Linked DNA regions of Homo sapiens: region 2 is linked to region 1. The links are contacts of gene promoters, found by promoter capture Hi-C in blood cells and fetal thymus (Javierre and others, 2016). All regions are on one chromosome and are shown on one strand. Each heading gives the region's core, a stretch centred on a gene start or on the middle of the fragment in contact. The rest is flanking DNA. Distances are from core to core; before and after follow the strand shown.

What was found. The method cuts DNA at HindIII sites, captures the fragments that hold promoters and counts their contacts. A CHiCAGO score of 5 or more calls a contact.
Region 2: a fragment that was not itself captured here is called in contact with the fragment with the promoter of MPLKIP in region 1 in 1 of 17 cell types (total B cells); the score reaches 5.5 in total B cells.

Annotation. Positions count from the first base shown.
Region 1 is chr7:40,129,301-40,136,473 of GRCh38, reverse strand. MPLKIP (M-phase specific PLK1 interacting protein) reads left to right here and starts at 1,852. Exons shown (of 2, transcript NM_138701.4): 1 at 1,852-2,245; 2 at 3,215-7,173. The coding sequence starts at 1,907. The coding sequence ends at 3,415. It overlaps SUGCT (succinyl-CoA:glutarate-CoA transferase), which reads right to left and starts at 1,469. Exons shown (of 14, transcript NM_001193313.2): 1 at 1,354-1,469. The coding sequence starts at 1,453. RefSeq lists silencers at 1,397-1,596, 2,057-2,126 and an enhancer at 1,777-1,846. The HindIII fragment of the contact is 4,548 bases long and covers 1-3,440 here.
Region 2 is chr7:43,725,104-43,731,933 of GRCh38, reverse strand. COA1 (cytochrome c oxidase assembly factor 1) reads left to right here and starts at 2,411. Exons shown (of 6, transcript NM_018224.4): 1 at 2,411-2,505. RefSeq lists enhancers at 2,101-2,300, 1,667-2,395, 2,396-3,125. The HindIII fragment of the contact is 546 bases long and covers 1,212-1,757 here.

The DNA.
Region 1 (7,173 bases), core at 603-3,102:
AAGGAGGATAGAAGCTGAGAAGATACCACACTCGTCAGCTTGGGATGTCACAGAACATGTCAAAGAGACAGCGAGGAGTAGCAGCTACAAGAGGGTGAATGGAAATCACAGGTCCAGGCTACCCGTTAGGCTATGATTTAATGAGTCCTAAAGCTCTTTTAAGATTCTGTATCCTACGCCAGGCGCGGTGGCTCACGCATGAAATCCCAGCACTTCGGGAGGCAGAGGCAGGCGGATCACTTGAGCCCAGGAATTTGAGACCAGCCTGGCCAACATGGTGAAACCCGTCTTTACTAAAAATACAAAAAAATTAGCCGGGCATGTGGCACATGCCTGTAATCTCGGCTACTCTAGAAAGCTGAGGCAAGAGAATCGCTTGAACCCGCGAGGCAGAGGTTGTGGTGAACCAAGATCGCGCCACTGCACTCCAGCCTGGGCGACAGAGCGAGACTGTCTCAAAAAAAAAAAAAAAAATCCTGCATCCTGCAACTAATTTCAAGATTCATAGTGGGCCGCGCGCATAATCATAGAGATTACGTCTGTAATCTCAACACTTTGGGAGGCCGAGGCGGGAGGATAACTTGAGGTCAGGAATTCGAGACCAGCCTGGCCAATATGGCGAAACCCCGTCTCTACTAAAAATACAAAAATTAGTTGGGCGTGGTGGCGCATGCCTATAATCCCAGCTACTCGGAAGGCTGAAGCAGGAAAATCTCCTGAACACGGGAGGAGGAGGTTGCAGTGAGCCGAGATCGCGCCACTGCAGTCCAGCCTGGGCGAGACAGCGAGACTCCGTCTCAAAAAAAAGAGAAAAAAAGAAAAAAGGAAAAAAAAGATTCATAGTGGATTACCATTCCCAAATTCAGAGGGAGTAAAGAAAGTTCTATAACACTGTAGTAAAGCTAAATTTCATCCTCTAAATAAAATTCTGCAACAGGTAACTGTACAAGGGCATCTTTTATTGTACATGAAGTGTCAAGTTATTCAAAGCAGCGGGCTAAAGTCCTTTCTGAAATGTGGCTTGGTGTGCATTTTCGAAGTTACTTAAACTTGGCGGACGAAAGGACAGGAGTAAAGAGGCCCCAAACGCGAGCCGCGGGACGCGCAGGAGCGGGACCCCACGGCGCACGGAGCCCTCGGTCACAACAACGCACGGGACAGAGGCGACCCTGGGCGGCCAGAGCGGGGCAGGCCGGCCGCAGGCCCACGGAACGGGGTTGCAGGGAGGCGAGCAAAGCCACCGCTAAGGGGTCAGCAGAGACTTCAGACCCTAATTGCTCTCCTCAGGGCGCCCGAGGAGGCAAGCTGGGGCAGGGATCCCTTTAGCCACCCAGACCGAATCTCGGAGGGTACCTGACTGCGGGCGGCCAGTCCACAGCCCCCTCCCGCCGCCCCGGCCGGAGAAGAGGCAGGTTCTGCGCAGAGCTGCCACCCTCGCCAGCGTCGCCAGCATCGCGTGCGTCTCAGATGGCATCGGTCCCGGTGCAAGCGGCGAACTCCGTGCGGCGCCACCCGCCGCCACTGGGGGGCGCCCACGGACGCCGCAGACCCCGCCCCCGCCGGGCGGGGCTGAGCACTAGTCGCCTGCTGGGCCAGCTTCTAGTCTGTCGGTCAGACCAAGGGCACTCAGACTGGAAAGGTTGTTGCTGGGCTTGGGTGTCCGTCCTTTCCTGTCTCCTTTTCTTCCTCTTTTCACTTAAATCCACTGAGTCTCTCGCCAAGTCAGTGATTTAGGTAATCCCGCCGCCCCTGGCGGAACCTTTGTGACGCCGGAACTGATGTGCCGTAGGGTGGCTGCGGTCGGAGGACTGTTTTGGTAAAGGACTAGCAGTTCTCTGCGGAGGGCCGGTTGATACAGTTCCGGTGGGAGAACGCGGCTGCGAGGTTTTCGGCTTTGGCTCCTGATATGCAGCGACAGAATTTTCGGCCCCCAACTCCTCCTTACCCTGGTCCGGGTGGAGGAGGTTGGGGTAGCGGAAGCAGCTTCCGGGGAACCCCGGGCGGGGGCGGACCACGGCCGCCCTCCCCTCGAGACGGGTACGGGAGTCCGCACCACACGCCGCCGTACGGGCCCCGGTCTAGGCCGTACGGGAGCAGTCACTCTCCGCGACACGGCGGCAGCTTCCCGGGGGGCCGGTTCGGGTCTCCGTCCCCTGGCGGCTACCCTGGCTCCTACTCCAGGTCCCCCGCGGGGTCCCAGCAGCAATTCGGCTACTCCCCAGGGCAGCAGCAGACCCACCCCCAGGTAATAATAATAGCCAGCGTTTGCCGAGCTCTTACTTTATGGCAGGCACGGTACTAATATTCCCTTTACGTGGATTATTTTGTCTAATCCTCTCTGAGGTACTATTGTTAGCCCAATTTTGCAGATGAGCGAACTGAGGCTTAGAGAAGTTGAGTGACTTCCGGAAGATTATCCGAAAGAGTGGCAGAGCCGTACGTTCTGTTTTCGAGCCCTCGTGCTTTTAACCAATACACTGCCACCCGTACACAGATTTTCCTAATTCTCCATTTCCTCCTGTTTGCCAAAGGCCTTGCCAGTTTGTTTCAAGAAATAGTTCTTTTTCTTTTTTTTTTTTTTTTTTTTATCTTTCTTTCGAGCTACACTGGCTTCTGCTCCAACTTCCCTGAAAAGAAAATCGGTGGTAGTGGAAGTTTTCCATTCCTTTAGTGAGAGTAAATACAAAAGACAGAGAGAGTATCTCTAGCATGTCTGGGATTTCTGTGGTTTACAACTTGCAACTACGTGGTTTTCCAACTTGCTGTATTCTACACCAACCCCCTACCCCTTTTGAGCCTGGAGCTAAGGAGTAAAGAAAATGTTCATGAGCTAGAAAGGTTCTAGAAACTTTAAAACTATAGTATTGTTTTCTCCTGAAAAAAGTGAAAATTTCGAGGGAAAATTGAATATAATTACTTGATTTCATCACTGCTTGTATTTAATTACTGCAAAGTTACTACATTAGACACAAAAGTATTTGAGATGACAGTGGTCATGGAATTATAAATAAATGAGAATAACGAATTGCTTTAAGTACTTTTTTTAAAAAATAGGAACACTTGATTAAAGGAAGCATGGACTTTGTAATTGAACATTATTTAGGTTCAAGTCACAACTTTTAAGCAGCAATGTGATTCCCGCTAACCTTTAGCTAAAGGAAGAAGTACCAATTATCTTTACTAAGTGTTTTTTTAACTGATTTTTTTTCTAAAGGGTTCTCCAAGGACATCTACACCATTTGGATCAGGGCGTGTTAGAGAAAAAAGAATGTCTAATGAGTTGGAAAATTATTTCAAGCCTTCAATGCTTGAAGATCCTTGGGCTGGCCTAGAACCAGTATCTGTAGTGGATATAAGCCAACAATACAGCAATACTCAAACATTCACAGGCAAAAAAGGAAGATACTTTTGTTAACATTTCTGAAATTCAACTGGAAGCTTCATGTGTCAGGAACATCTTGGACAAAACTTTAAGTTGTGTTGATATAAATTTACCCAAAGATGATGACTTTGATTGGATAATTAGTAAGGTCTTTTTGTTATTTTTCATCGTATCAGGTATTGTTGATATTAGAGAAAAAAGTAGGATAACTTGCAACATTTAGCTCTGGAAGTACCTACCACATTTTAGAGATTTACCGTTTCCATATATTTAACATTCCTGGTTACATAATGGACATTTGTCTTTTAATGTTTTTTCAATGTTTTAAAATAAAACATTTTGTCTTCTAGCTATTGTGGTTTTGTGGTATGATAAAGAAGTAGACTTACTACAGTAATGCTTTGTAGTCACTTAGAGTTCATAGGTAAATGTTTTGCAAATTATTTTTGAAAATGAAATAGGTAAACCATCCTTTGAGCTGTAGACAGCTCTGTATTTGTTCGTAAATAATGAGGATGAGAATAACAGAGTTCTGTTCATACTCATTTTATCTAATGCTTCTGTTAAAATGCATTAAAACTTGAAGCCCCAGAAACCCATTTAAGCATAACTTTATACTCATTTAACTGGAAAAGGCAAGAATAGACCATGCATTGCTAAATCAAAGTGTTCTATCTGAATTTCTCTATACCTCTTAGCATTATGGAGTTAGTTTCTCTTGAGGCCAAAGAAGATAGCTACCAGCAGCCTCAAATCACTTCCATTGCAAAAAGAACATCTCTCATCTCCATCAATCCAAGAGAAGACAAATTTGCCATACTTAGATCATGTTTCTGTATTATTGAACCAATTAACTGTGGCCAAGGCCACAGTGAGACCTAATTAACTTGAATCATGGACACATCACCATAATGAGACAGGATTCTGTGACCTTGAACACCACTGGGCCTACCTGGAGTAGAGAAGTGGTTTTCCAAATTAAGGGATGCTATGGATATATACCTATAGTTCTGGAGAGAAAAATATGGAAGAATTGTTACCCCAACTATTTTTTAAAAATCAAGTGGTTTTTTGTTTGTTTTTTGAGATGGAGTCTGTTGCCCAAGCTGGAGTGCAGTGGTGCAATCTTGGCTCACTGCAACCTTCGGCTCCTGAGTAGCTGGGACTACAGGCACATGTCACCATGCCTGGCTAATTTTTGTATTTTTAGTAGAGACCATGTTTTGTTTTTTTTGTTTGTTTTGTTTTGTTTTTGAAATAGGGTCTCACTCTGTTGCCCACGCTGGAGTGCAGTGGCGCAATCTTGGCTCACTGCAACGTCCGCCTCCCAGGTTCATACGAGTCTCCCGCCTCGACCTCCTGAGTAGCTGGGAATACAGGCACGCGCCTGGCTCATTTTTGTATTTTGAATAGAGATGGGGTTTCACCGTGTTGGCCAGGCTGGTCTCGATTGAACTCCTGGTCTCAAGTGATCCCCTACCTTGGCTTCCCAAAGTGCTGGGATTTCAGGCATGAGCCACCGTGCCCAGCCCAGAACATGTATTTTTAGTATTTTTAGTATTTTTAGTTTCACCATGTTGACCAGGCTGGTCTCGAACTCATGATCTCAAATGATCCACCCATCTCAGCCTCCCACAGTGCTGAGTTTACAGGCGTGAGCCACCATGCCCGGCCAAAATCAGGTGTTTTAACATGTAACACAGACTCTAGGCATTTTGAAGTTACAAAATACGAAGATAGAGCTAGTAAAACTTTTGTTTCAACATTCCCAGAAAGAAACGTGTAAAAACAAAATGGTCACACCTCCTATTTGAACCATACCCACAGAAATTTGTTCATTAGGTATTTCACAGAGACTAGAAAATAAGAATGGAAGGCTTTTAGATTAATAAAAGCTCCATGAAAGCCAGGATTTTGGAAATGCTGTTTCTACAAGTTACTAGCTGGATGAGTTCACTTCTCTATGCCTCAATTTTCTCATGTGTAAGATGAGAAAATTAATAGTACCTGTGTCATAGAGGTGTTGTGTTGGAGGATTAAATGAATTTATGTATGAAACTCTTAAGCCAGAGCCTGGCACATAGTAAGCACTCAATAAGTGGTAGCTGTTACTTTCTCATTTACCCCCATTTCCTTAGTTTTTAGAATAGTGTCTGCAAGATAGTAGGTACTTAAGTGATAAATGGATGTAGAAATTCTGATTGTAACTACTATATTGTTCTACCTACACCCTGTATATAAAAGGGATAACTTAGTAATTTTTCCCCAGTATTTTAAAGAAAAAGTCCTTATTCCCAACATTATGTCTTTCCAGATATGTTGAGGTCATGATGTATAATGGAAATTAAAGCAAAGGGAATACTTTTTTAAATACTTTATTGAACTTTATAGGTAAGAAATGTTGTCTTTAGGAAATGACATTTGGAGATAATTTACTGAAGCATCTCTTAGATCATTGGGTTATTAGTAAAGACGAAAACAGAAGTTAGGATTTTGTGCCAGTGTATTTATATCATATTTGGAAGACATTCAAACTGTAACTCTTCTAATGGTCTACGTACATTTTATTTCACTGTAAGTGTAACATAAAACAAAGGTAAAATTTCTTGCTAACGCTTACCAACATCTACTTCTAGAGACCTGGCCTGAGTTTTTTAAGAAAAATTTTTGTCCTCAGGAAAGATGCATACACTGTAAGTAGTGTATTCAGTTATCAAAATTCTTGTGGCATTGGCCATTTGGTTTGTTACCGTTACTCTATTTTTATTTATCTGAGTAAAAGGAATTGATTATTCTTTAAAATGAAAGGGATTGTTTTTTAATGTTCTAGGATACACATTTTACCTCTATAAAAATGCTGAATAACTTTTTAGAAAAACTTACAATTAAGTATACATCTTAAAAATTCATATGCTTAAAGGATGGAAGTGTAGTCTATAGTAGAGTCTTCAAACAAGGGTCTACATACTCCTGGGAATATTAAACTTTCTAAGGGATATGCAGGCATAAATAGCTTTAAGGGAATGCAAATTCAGATCGCAGTGCCCATGTAAATCCTTTATTAAAATTGACCTACATAAAAACATATCCATATCAAGGGATCATGCCAGTTCTTTTTCCCTGCTGCCTTTTGGTAATCACTGGTCTCCCATTTTACAAAAGAAACCTATGGCAAGTTGTGTTTTGCAGAAATGACCCCAACAATATTTAAAGTCTCATACCCTTCTCGAACCTTGCCACTACCCTTATCAAGATGTGGAGTTACGTCCCTTCCCTTTGAACATTAACAGACTTTTTTTTTTTTTCAAAGAGTTAGAGGGTCTCCTTATAGGGGCCTCCCTGTATTACCCAGGCTGGTCTCTAACTCTTAGGCTTAAGGGGTCCTCCAGCCTCGGCCTCCCAAAGTGCTGGAATTACAGGTGTGAGCCACCACGCTTGGCCCCTTAGCCAACTTCTGACTGCCATAATTAAGAGAATATGATGGAAGTTAATCTATTTTCATTGTGGGTAAAGTGTGGTGTTAAAAATGAGTTATAGGCCAGGCACTATGGCTCACACCTGTAATCCCAGCACTTTGGGAGCCCAGGTGGGCAGATCACTTGAGGTTCGGAGTTTGAGACCAGCCTGGCCAATATGGTAAAGCCTCGTCTCCACTAAAAACACAAAAATAAGCTGGGCATGGTGGCGCGCGCCTGTAATACCAGCTACTGGGGAGGCTGAGGCAGAAGAATCACTTGAACCCAGGAGGCAGAGGTTGCAGTGAGCCGAGATAGTGCCACTGCACTCCAGCC
Region 2 (6,830 bases), core at 235-2,734, 3.6 Mb before region 1:
AGCACTATTTTAACCCATTTAATCTTTATGGCATCTCTATCAGAAAACAGTAAGGATCCCAGCACTCTGGGAGGCCAAGGTGGGTGGATCACTGAGGTCAGGAGTTCAAGAGAAGCCTGGCCAACATGGTGAAACCCCTTCTCTACTAAAAATACAAAAATTAGCCAGGCGTGGCAGTGCATGCCTGTAGTTACAGCTACTTGGGAGGCTGAAGCAGGAGAATTGCTTGAACCCGGGAGGCAGAGGTTGCAGTGAGCTGAGATCATGCCACTGCATTCCTGCCTGGGCGACAGAGTGAGACTCAGTCTCAGAAAAACAGAAAACAAAAACAATAAGGAAACTTATTAGACATTCCTACAAGGCATTCAGATACAGGGTGAGCTCCAGGTTTGGAATGATGTCACCAAGGACATTGTTTTATAACTTGTTCAGTTGTCCTCAGCATTGGTCCATCAGTTTTATTCCTTGTGATGGGCAAGATGGCTACTAATGACAGTGTGGGATAGATGTTTCGACGTCAAGAGGACAGTATATCAGAAACTTTCTCCTGAGCATGAAATAGAGGTCCTTTCCTTCAGTCAGATTGCGCCAACCTGGGTCATATACTCGTTCCTTGATTAGCAACTATTTCCAAAAAAATTCTGTGTGAAGACTGGTTTAATCAGTATCATTTTGATTCTGGGAACAGGGCAGCTATCTGAATAAAATAAGGATTTTGGTACAAAGGAGTTAGAGGAAAATGAATATTGGATAGGTAACATTATTCACTATAGAGTTTTGTTTTTAATGTAAAATTTAGACGACAAAAAAATTCTGTGTGATGACTGGTTTAATCAGTATCATTTTGATTCTGGGAACAGGGCAGCTATCTGAATAAAATAAGGATTTTGGTACAAAGGAGTTAGAGGAAAATGAATATTGGATAGGTAACATTATTCACTATAGAGTTTTGTTTTTAATGTAAAATTTAGACGAAAACTTTAGCAGATTTAAGTCCAGTGATAGAAATGTTAAGTTCTGAGTTTTCAAGCAAATGGTCAGAAAAGCCTATTTAATGTTTTATTACTTACAAAGTAAACATATTTCTCTTTCTGGTACAGAACGGGAGCTAATTGATCTCGGGTTCATTTTCATGAACGTTGTATGAAATGCACATATACCAAACCTCATAAGCTTTTTATTAGTTGATTTATTCTTTGAAATATTAAGCTTGGTGTAAGGTATTATAACCTCAATCTCTTTGAAAATGTAATAAGTCAATAATCAATGTTGCATCAATGAATATTACTCAGTGGATGCCTATTTTATTTCTTCTTTTTCTCTAAGAACCATTTAAATAGTCCTTATGGCCGAGCACTTCACAATCTGATTAGTTTCTATTAATTCTTTGGAAAAGAAACATTCTGGGAAGTCAGAATTCAGCGGTAGGTTGCTTTGATAATGTGCTCATTTAGCTAGTGGATTCCAGAGTGATAGAATGTATGTTTGGCAACCTAATTGTTGTGGAGGAAGAAAAGAACTTCTGTTAGAAGTTTTTAAAAAAGTTTAAAAATTGTTTTTACCTCATCAAAAGTTTGATGTCTTGTGAGTTTTATAGCATGCATAATATATTAATGCCATACATGACACATGTAAATATATATATATTTTTTCTGATAGGGATGTGTGAGCAAGAGTTTAAAGAAGAATGCCCCAGTCTAAAGTTAATTAGTCTTGGAGTGATGGCTTCGCAGAGGAAAGATACTGGATTTCAAGCTTGACATTAAGGTGATAATAGTGGTGACTATGGAATAATCAATATAAAAATAATAACAGCTAACAGTTACTGAGCGCCTACAAACTGCCAGACACTACTCTAAGTGCTTCACATCCTCATAACAAATTTATGAGGTAAATGCTATTATTATCCACCAGCCTTCTGAAATTTTCTTACCCCGTTACTCCCTGGTGTTAACTGGGTACTTAATTTGTCGAATAAAATAAAATTTAGTGCTGCCAAATTTGTCAGCTGAACGGGGCGGCAGGAATTTCAGTGCTAGAGTGGGGGGCCAGACGGCCCGGGGCTTCGTGTCCTTGGAGGCCAGCGGAAGCGCCGCATACCTGTGAGGAGCAACGTGAGCCGGTGGCTTATATTTCCTGGGCTAGTGCTACTGGACTGAATGCATTTGCAATAACCGGACGCAGAAAAAAAAAAAAAAAGCGGGGACCAGGGGAGGCGAAACCCTTCCCGGCGCGAGTCCGAGCGTCTGAGAAGCAGAAGCCACACGTCCCGGCGACCTAAGTTCTGGATCAGCCGGCCGGAGGACCCGTGTTAGCATTTACAATCCGAGGTGAGCTGAAGCCTCCGGTTGTCCCGGTTCGACGCTCTAGCCCTGCGAGCAGCCGACGCCGGAAGTCTCTACTGCTCCCCGCTGGCGCGCAGGACCGCGGGCATTTACCCGTGCTTTCCCAAGCCTGGAAGAACTCGTCATGCTCTTTGTAGCGTGGTGCTTCTGTTGCTCACAGGTTAGTCTCCCGCGGTATAAGAGTCTCCGTCTTCCCCCCAGCAAGAAGCGTTTGTTCCTGCAATTCGGGGGGCCGCCTTTGCGCGCGGGGTGCGCTGCTTCTTGGAGAGTTCCCTCACGGGTCACATCGCGGAGGTTCGCGCCGGCGCCGGGTCGCGGCCTCCCTGCGCAGCTTCTTTGGCACCTGGTAACCTTCAGTGGCTCCGTCCGCTCGGAGTTAGGAGGCTGTGTCGAGCTAACCTTGACCTTGTCCTGCAGTTTTTGCTGACCATCCCCAACAGCACACTGTAAAGAGTTAGGGTCCTCTCGAAGAGTTGGGACTGGGCACTTTTGTTGGTAGTGCTAAATTTCAACACCCTGAGGAGTACGCTGCCCAAATTATTGTAGGAAAGAATTACCTGGTTTAGTGGTTATAATACTTTTTGTCCCCACCACACTTGAATAACAGAAAAACCCTCCCAACAGGGGCTGACTGCAAAAGTGATTTTCTGTGTAGGGGACATTGGATGTATTTATGTATATATCAGTGCCTATCAGTCTGTATGTGTGTTTGGGGGTGGATGCTGTGTAATTTAAAAAAATCTATGGAGATTCTGATAATTTGATAACCTGTTTCTCCGGTCTTCCCCTGATTCCTCCCCATTCTCCCCGGAGGGCTATTGCTTTATTTCTGAGGTGGCTCACGTTTGGATAGAAGTAGCAACTCTCCGCTTACACCTGCACGTTTAAAACGCATATCAGATTGTGTTATTTCTGTCCTCAGAATCTTCCTGGCCTTCCCGTTGCTTTCAGGATAATACACATTTCTTAGCCTAACTTCAAGGGCCTACAGGGTCTTGATTCTGCTGAGTTTTTCAGTCTTTGCTACTTTCATGGAAAACACACCTGCAGGTACACTCATATTATGCTCCCACCATGCCAGTCTACGGTAATTTAATAACTTTAGATATGGCAAAGTTTTATATGGTTTACTCAAGTTTTAATTTTTGTTCTAGCATTTAGCCAAAATCGATTGAATTCATAATATTGCTAGGCACTGTTTTAAAAACGGGATAAAATGAAAACAAAACAAAACACAAAACAAAAGTCTTCAGTCCTTTAAAAAAATAAAACAGCTTCCTGACACATAGTTCACCTACCGTAGAGTTCACCATTTAAAACGTAGCGGTGCCTCACGCCTGTAATCCCAGCACTTTGGGAGGCCGAGGCGGGTGGATCACGAGGTCAGGAGATCAAGACCGTCCTGGCTAACACGGTGAAACCCCGTCTCCACTAAAAATACAAAAAATTAGCCGGGCGTGGTGGCGGGAGCCTGTAGTCCCAGCTACTTGGGAGGCTGAGGCAGGAGGATGGTGTGAACCCGGGAGGTGGAGCTTGCAGTGAGCCGAGATTGCGCCACTGCACTCCAGCCTGGGCGAGAGAGCTAGACTCCATCTCAAAAAAAAAAAAAAAGAAAGAAAACCTAAAAGTAATTAGTACATTAGTACATTCACAAAGTTGTACAACCATCATCATAAAATATGCTGTAATCTTCTTCACCTTCATTAGTTGGTTTAATTTTCTATTTCAGACAGACTCCAATAAGTTATTCTTGTATTCTTTTGTTCATGTTTAATATGCTGCATTCAGTTTGTGAGAGCCATATTGGAACAATTGAACATTTTCATCACTCCAAAAGGAAACCCTGTACTTATTCAGCAGGCTCACCTGACTTCCCCATCCCCACTCCCCATTCTAAGCCCTAAGCAACTATGAATTGACTGACTGTATATTTGACTATTCTGGATTATTCATGTGAGTGAAATCATACAGCATGTGGTCTTTTTCAACTGGCTTCTTTTACTTAACATTCATGTTCATCTGTGTTGTATTTAATAGCATGTGTCAGTACTTTTTTTTATTGCTGGTTAATCTTTTATGGGTATTACCACGATTTATTTTCCATTAGTTAGTGGACGTTTGGATTGTTTCCACCTTTTGGCCATTATGTGTAATGCTGCTGTGAACATTCACCTACAAGTTTTTGTGTGGACATCATGTTTTCATTTCTCTTGCGTATGTGCCTAGGAGTGAAATGGCTGGGTCATATGGTAGCTCTGTTTAACATTTTAAGAAATGGTCAGACTGTTTTCCAAAGCATCAGTGTGCATCTTTTTAACATTCGCACCAGTAGTGTATTAGGGTTTTGATTTCTCACTCCTTGCCAACACTTGTCATTATCTGTCTTTCTGATTCTAGCCATTCCAGTGGGTGTGAAGTGTGTGTCATTGTGTTTTCATTCTTTTTCGTTGACATGTAATAATTGTACATATTTAGGGACTACAGAGTGATATTTTGATAAATGTATACAATGTGTAGTGATCAAATCAGGTAATTAGTATGTCCACCACCTGAAACGTTCATCTTTTCTTTGTGTTGCGACCATTAAAAATCTCCTAACTTTTTGAAAATATTATGGTTTCAAATCGTATTTCCCTGATGGCTAATGATGTTGAGCATCTTTTCAAGTGCTTATTGCCCATTTATTTATCTTCTTTGGAGAAATGTGTACTCAGATCCTCTGCCCATTTTTAAATTAGGTTCTTTTTTGTAATTGAGTTGCAAGAGTTCTTTATATATTCTAGATACAAGTCATTTATCAGATATGTGATAGTCTTTTAGATTATGCTACCGTTCTTTTAAATGAAAAGCACATGAGATTAATTTTTTGTAGCCCTGGAGACCTCCTTATGGGTATGTGGCTGTGGTTTAGAGAGTGATGGTTTTCCAACAACTACGTGGGAGGCCAGGCCCAGGAAAAATGCTGTGAAAGAACCCGTGAGGAGCATTTTAAGACTTGAAAAATGAAGCAAGGAAAAACTTTATAATTTGCCATTCCGTATGGAGTTTTGTCTTTATTGATTTTTAGGAGTTCTTTGTGTAGGGATTTAAGCCATTGACTGTTAGATATGTGGCAGATATTTTCAATCTATTTAGTTAACTTTGTTTTATATTTTTTACTATATTGTTTTACATTTTTGTGTAGTCAGGACTTTGCCTCTAAAAGCCTTCTGGCTAATAGTTTAGGATATTGTTCTTTAATTATAGGAGTTATAGAAACTGACATAGTAGTTCCCAGTTAGTGTGACATCTGAGTCCCTGGTGGTATATTTAGCCTAAGAGTGTTCATTGTTTCAGACATTGTTGCCTCCCTGTCTCTCTGCCTTGAAAAATGTGCCATGATCTGCTTCAACTTTGTTCATTTAACTCTCTATTTTAAACAGACTCCAAGAAGTTATTCTTTTATCCTCTTGTTCATGTTTCATATGCTGCATTAGATTTGTGAGAGCCATATTGGACAGTTGGTCACCAAATAGTAGGTACTTTTTTCATACTAGCAGGCATTTATTTGAAGATTATTTAATGTATGCAGAGGTTGAGTGTAGCTATTGTGTTCTGTATTGTTTGGGGCATGTTGGAAAAAGTAGTTTTATAAAATCCTATTAACATTGTTTTGTATTTTTTTAATTTTGTTGGTTAAAAGGCAGTAGTAGTAATATATATAGTATATATATAATATATATATTTTTTGAGATGGAGTTTCGCTCTTGGTACCCAGGCTGGAGTGCAATGGTGCGATCTCGGCTTACTGCAACCTCCGCCTCCTGGGTTCAAGTGATTCTCCTGCCCCAGCCTCCTGAGTAGCTGAGATTACAGGTGACTGCCACCATGCCCAGCTAATTTTTTTGTTTTATAGTAGAGACGGGGTTTCACCATGCTGGCTAGGTTGGTCTGGAACTCCTGACCTCAGGTGATCCACCGCCTCGGCCTCCTAAAGTGCTGGGGTTATAGGCATGAGCCATTGCGCCCAGCCAGTAGTAAAAGTATTTTTAGAAACTGAGCATTTTGAGAATCTAAGGAAAGTGATATACAATAGCTTCCAGAAAAAAATTGCATCTCTCTGTTTACATATAATGGCCAAGATTTCATTCTTTCCCCTTGGCTTGATTCCAGTTAGAACTGTGTGTTTCTTGTTTCAGTGTTTTGTCTTTTCTTTTTTAAAATTGTGATAGAATATACATAACATAAAATTGGCCATTTTAACTATTTGTAAAGATACAGTTCAGTGCCATTAAGTACTTTAACATTGTTGTGTAACCATAACCACCATCTATCTCCAGAACACTTTTTTCTTTTTCTTTTTTTTTTTTTGAGATGGAGTTTCGTTCATGTTGCCCTGGCTGGAGTGCAGTGGCGTGTTCTCAGCTTACCGCAACCCCCACCTCCCGGGTTCAAGTGATTCTCCTGCCTCAGCCTCCCGAGTAGCTGGGATTACAGGCATGCGCC